Regions from separate parts of the Homo sapiens genome. Here region 1 is linked to region 2. Evidence: promoter capture Hi-C in 16 types of primary human blood cells and fetal thymus (Javierre and others, 2016). All regions are on one chromosome and are shown on one strand. The core of a region is centred on a gene start or on the middle of the fragment in contact, and the rest is flanking DNA. Distances in the headings are between cores, read along the strand shown.

Evidence for each region. The method cuts DNA at HindIII sites, captures the fragments that hold promoters and counts their contacts. A CHiCAGO score of 5 or more calls a contact.
Region 1: a contact is called between a fragment that was not itself captured here and the fragment with the promoter of NDUFB6 in region 2, in 1 of 17 cell types (activated CD4 T cells). The highest score is 6.4, in activated CD4 T cells.

The regions. Positions count from the first base shown.
Region 1 is chr9:26,899,074-26,901,947 of GRCh38, reverse strand. No RefSeq gene overlaps it. Among named protein-coding and RNA genes, the nearest start is that of CAAP1, 7.7 kb to the right of the region's middle. The HindIII fragment of the contact is 1,486 bases long and covers 841-2,326 here.
Region 2 is chr9:32,571,843-32,574,854 of GRCh38, reverse strand. NDUFB6 (NADH:ubiquinone oxidoreductase subunit B6) reads left to right here and starts at 1,696. Exons shown (of 4, transcript NM_002493.5): 1 at 1,696-1,974. The coding sequence starts at 1,795. RefSeq lists enhancers at 1,289-1,338, 1,609-2,148. The HindIII fragment of the contact is 6,496 bases long and covers 1-2,836 here.

The DNA of each region.
Region 1 (2,874 bases), core at 334-2,833, 5.7 Mb after region 2:
CTTGCCACTGATAATATCACACTTAAGGAAATTAGTAATTTCATAATATCTAATATCTAGTCCATATTTCAAATTTCCTCATTGCTCTAAGAATGCCTTTTATAACTTGCTTTAAAAAGATCTAAATAATCAAGGTTTGTGTACTGTATCTATGAATAGTTTAGATATATGCTTCTTTGACTTCTTAATCTAGAATAGTCTTTCATATTTTAAAACTATCAGTGACTTTTTGAAATGTTTAGGGCACTCCAGCATGTGAAGCACCTCACATTTTGTGTTTGTAAAATATTTTTCTACAACCCTTTAGTATTGGTTATCTATTGCTGCTTAATAAATGACCCCAGAACTTTGTGGATTAAAATAGCACATATTATCTCAAATGTTCTGTGGTTCAGGAATCCTAACACAGCTTAGGTGGATCCTCTTGAGGCTGTAAAGTATCAGCCAAGGCTGGTGTCTCATCTAAAGGCTCTACTGAGGAAGGTTTCATTTTCAAGCTCACATCGTTGTTGTTTAGATCTTTTGGGGTTGGACTGAGGACCTCAATTCCTAGCTAGCTGTTGGCCAAAGACTGCCCTCTCTGAGTTTTGCTATATGGGCCTCCCCAGTGTGGCAAGTTGCTTCATCAAAGCCAGCAAGGGAGAGACTGCTGGCAGGACCAAAGTTGGAATCTTTATAATCTAATCACAGAAGTGACATCTCAACATCAAGGTATTGTATTGGTTGGAAGTTAATCAAGGGGAGTAGATTATGCAAGGCAGTGAATACCAGTAGGGGAGGGATCACTGGGGGCTATCTTGGAGTCGGCCTGCAACATCTATTTCCTATAAACTGAAAGCTTGTTTCCACTGAGATTAAACTATTTGTAGGAATACTTTACAGGTGATATGTACTTGTTATTTTGTCTTGATTATATCATATATGAGCTTCCTTAAGGGGTAAAATAGTCTTCAGAATAAGGTGGGTAATGGAAGCTGTAAAGAGGAGAAAGTTGCCTAAAGTCCTTTTGTAAAGTAGATAGTCTAATATTGGTCCTAGGCCTAAAATGAGATGTTGGGGCTTAAAACCTGACCTTGGAATTCCTGGACACTTGATAAATCAGAAAAATAAAATGTCCGAATGGCTGTGATCATCACATTTCAAGTTATGTAGCAACATTTACCACAACAGTTTGCAACTTGATTTAAATCAAACCAAATAACAATGCAAAGAACAACTAGGCAGCCTGCATTAAGCACTTATTCTTTTCTAGTTGTATATGCATAGTTTATCCTCATTATCTCTATGAGGTAGGTATTACACAGGTGTAGAAACTGAAAGAAGTCAAATCTGTATGACAAGTCAGTAGTAACCAAACAATGGAGAAGATAACAGTATTTAATCAATGATGTTGCCAAAACTGGATATCAATATGAAGAAAAATACCAGTTTGTAGTAGCCACTTTAATAGCAACTACAGTGGCTGCTAGTGCCATATAAGAATGACATGGATCAAAAGAAAGTGGTTTTAAGCCATTAAATGACATTTCTTTCATTCCTGTGTCCTCAAAGGAACTAATAAATTCAATAAATGTTCACTTATTTCTATATTATTCAAAATTTTCAGTAGTAATAGCAACCAAAGCTGCAGTATAATATAGTGAAGGAGCACTGGCTTTGGAGTTCAAAAGGCATATATTCCAATAGCCTTACCATCACTTAGTAATGAATTAAGGCAAGTTGCTTAACCTCAGCCTCAGTCAGTCATCTGTTCAGTGGGACTTCATATGACAGATGAATAATTTAAGATTCATGTAAAAGCCTAGCAAAATGATGGCCACATAAATGCTCAGCAAGCATTTCTTCCAAAGACAATACAAGGCTACCATGTTCTTTAATAATAAGAATAATTGCCTTTACAAAAACAAACAAAAGGGGGAAAAAAGTAATTTGGTTTTATTTCTACTGTGGAAGAAATGCCCTTGGGGCAGGGGGTAATCCTGAAGGACATTTATAAAGTTGTTTAGAACTCAAAATCCTTACCCTTCTTTTAAACTTCGTATAGTGCCCCAGGACCCAGCAAGAAAGTGTTTCTGTTGGACTGTAAAAATCACATATATGCATACTACAGCCCTAGCAGTGGTCTCATGATTTCTTGTAAGACTTCTGTGTATCGAATAGTGACAATATCAAACCAGTTTTGAAGACTTCTTACTGCTAACAGAGAAATACAGGGAAAGGGTCTCTTTTAGACAGAGTGCACATTGGTTAACTATAGCCACAGTAATACTGTGCAACAACCAACAACAAAAATAATAGTTTTTATTTAGCTCAGGAGTTTCAAGCTTGGGGTAGGATGGTCCTGGCTGGGCTCATTCATGTTTCTACAGGTTGTCTGAGGACTCAGCTCTAGGCTAGGCTCGTCTGAGTAGCTTAGTTGAGGCAGCTCTGCTCTACTTGTTGCTCATCTTTCTTCTAGGACCAGTGGGCCACTTTGGGTATATAATTTTTATGATAATGGTGGAAGCACAAGTCAACCATCCTAATTGCACAAGCTTTTTTTGAGACTCCACTTGCTGCACATCTGCTAACATCCATTTGGCCAAAGTAAGTTAGATGGCGTAGCAGAAGGGTAGGGAATTAGGTCTCACCTGTAGCAGGAGGGCACTGCCAAATTACATGGCAAGCTGTGGATATAGGGAGAGGTGAAGAACTGGGGTCATTAATGCAATTTGCCACAAGGGTGATAGAGAAAGAAGCTCTGTGTGGGTCCTGAAATTATCAGTTTAGAATTTTAACAAATATTTGCATCCCTAGCTTCTTCCAGGTAATGTATCAGGTGTTGAGACTACAAAAATATATATGCATAGTTCCTGGGAACTAACAGTATATTGG
Region 2 (3,012 bases), core at 447-2,946:
AGGAGGTTCAGAAAGTATCGTTCCACAAAGAGGCCAGGCAGCACGCATAGAAAAAAAACAGAAATGAGATACAGAAACAGCTTGATTGGCTACAGGTTGGCCTTTGCCTTATTTGAACATGGGCTGATCAGTTGACCACCTGTGATGATTGGCTGAGACTCAGTTATTTGTTACAGAAGTATATTCCTAAGTTAGGCTGTGAGTTAAATTGCATACTAAGTTGGGTTGCAGTTCATTATATAAGGACTCAAAATACGGAGACATCTTTAAGCTAAATTTAATTTCACAATATGAAATATTTACTTGGTTCTAAAGTCAAATTTATGAAGTAAGATGTTTCCAGAGATGTCTAGATTCTATCCCTGTCTCCTCTATCCTATTTATTTCCTCCACCATAGGTAGCATCTTTAAAAACCTCAATTGTTTTCATTCCCATTATTTTGAAAATTTAAGAAAATATGTATATATATTGAAATTACCACCATCTTTCTCTTTTTGGGTAAAAGCATACTGTACAAATTCCTATCCATTTTTTTTCCACTTTGTAATGTATTCTGGAGATCACACCACAGATGTATATAGAGTTCTTCCTTATTACTTTTGACGATTGTATTAGCATTTCATTGCTTTGTTGTGTGAAAGTTTTTGGGAAGCCACTGTTTTGGACTAGCTTCACGCACTAGGCCCCAGCAGACCAGACCAAACCAGAATGGAGTCGTTTGTGCTAAGTACCACACAATCAAACTGAACTTTGAAATGGGCCAGTTTCCCAAAAAATAGGAAATTCCCTTAAGTCTGAGTCAGTGAAACAAGGAAGTTTCTTCTGCTTTAACCCTAAAAGTAACTTTGAAACGATGAGTCCACTTTTTGTTCGGTTTCTGCTTTCTTCAGCCCCTATTTGCCAATAAAACCAACCGCCTCTGCTCAGCTGATCAGAACACTCATTCTACTTTATAGAATGAGGTGTTTTTTGATTCTAGAATCACGAATAAGAGTCAATTAAGATTTTTAAACTAATTCGTTGTAATGCTGTCTTTTGACTGTTGTACTACAATTTATTCAAGCAGTCCTTTATTTAGGAATTTGGGGGTAATTTCCAATATTTTGGTATTATGAATCGTGCTGAATAGTCGTGCATGCTCTTTCATATTTTCACCACACGTATTTTTGGGTGAAAGCATGAATTCATCTATGCAATTTTGCTAGATATTAAGCTACTCTTTTCACTATTCCTGTACAGATGGAGGGACAGATGAGACAGCTGCCCAGGGCACTTCAGCAGTTACTGGCATAGCTGGGATTTGAACTGGGATGTAACTATTTTCATACACTCTCTAGGTCATTCCAAGGTGGGAGAGGCAAGCAAATAATTTTGAATCTGGCCAGCATATTCACTGAAACATTTATGCTTATCCTTCCTCCTCCCAGCATACAAGTTCTTCCTTAGCAAAACCTCCAGTCCTCTAATTTAGCATACTTTCGTCTAATCTGTCACTTTCCTCAGGCCCCACAACTACGAGTACTCCTTGTCCCCACCCGGTCCTAATTTGGTCGGGTATAGCGGAGGTGGGCGTAGAGAGAACTGGAGGTGGAGACCTTTGTGCATGCCCACACACTGCTTTCCTCGCGAGGAATCTGGGGCCCTTGCAGAGGCGGAACCAGGATGTGACGTAATAACCGCGCGCGGCGCTCGGCGTTCCCGCAAGGTCGCTTTGCAGAGCGGGAGCGCGCTTAAGTAACTAGTCCGTAGTTCGAGGGTGCGCCGTGTCCTTTTGCGTTGGTACCAGCGGCGACATGACGGGGTACACTCCGGATGAGAAACTGCGGCTGCAGCAGCTGCGAGAGCTGAGAAGGCGATGGCTGAAGGACCAGGAGCTGAGCCCTCGGGAGCCGGTGCTGCCCCCACAGAAGATGGGGCCTATGGAGAAATTCTGGAATAAATTTTTGGAGAATAAATCCCCTTGGAGGAAAATGGTGAGTGACAGACCTCTCCGGTCCCCCCCAACACATCCCACTGCTGCCGGCAGCCTGAACACTGAACGTCCGCTCCCTGCAGCCACACCAAGGACTGATAACGCTCAGTGCTCTGGGACACTGGCCAGTCCCGAGAGTCCTCCTGGAGTCTCGGGAGGCAGGAGTCCAGGAATATGTATGGCTTTGAGAGAATCATGCCTTTTACTGTCAAGTACAGTGGACGGGGGCGAATTTTAATACTTAGGTTTTCCAGGACGCTGCACGTTTGGTTCTCTTTTGACTGTAGAAATCTTCCCTCAGAATAATAACCAAGGACTCGCTAGAATTAAAATTCTGTGATTTAAGTATTTGAGGACACTTGTCTGACTTTTAAGTGTGAGGTTCTAGAGACCAAGTAACACAGTATCCAACCACCAGAGGGCACAGCCAGCCCCTAGCTGATAGTACAGCCCCATGTGATCCCCGTAAAAGACAGGGTCCTGTTGGTATGCCTTGTGAGTCACATTCAAGAGCTACCTTTCTAAACTACCGTTCTGTACTTTTAACACAGTGTTTCATTAAAAAAATCGCATTTTGGGCTTTGAAGAAAATCACTCATTCAAGAACTTTATTTTCAAGGCCTCTGGGTATTTTCTTGAGGACTGTTATGGATGATAAACATCTCAGAATTGCTTTCAGTTACCTGCAACACTTACTGATGACAGGATAATAGTAGTAACAATACTACGTAACACACGGGTGCTTGCTGTGTGCTTGGCACTCTACTGGGGGTTTTACATGTGTTACTTCATTTCTTTATTCCTGTAAGGTAGATATTCCTAATCCTCATTTTAAATGTGAAGAAACTGAGGCCTACAAAGCTTCAGTGATTTGCTGGTGGTCAGGGAGCTAGGAATTGAATATGAGTTCATATTGTAATCAACATGTATCTGATTCTTACTGTGCTACAAAGTCTAGTGCAATAGAATTGTTGAAAATTTTTCTGAGAAAGTGATATTGGATACTTATTTATGGTGGTAAAATTCAACTCTTCTCCCA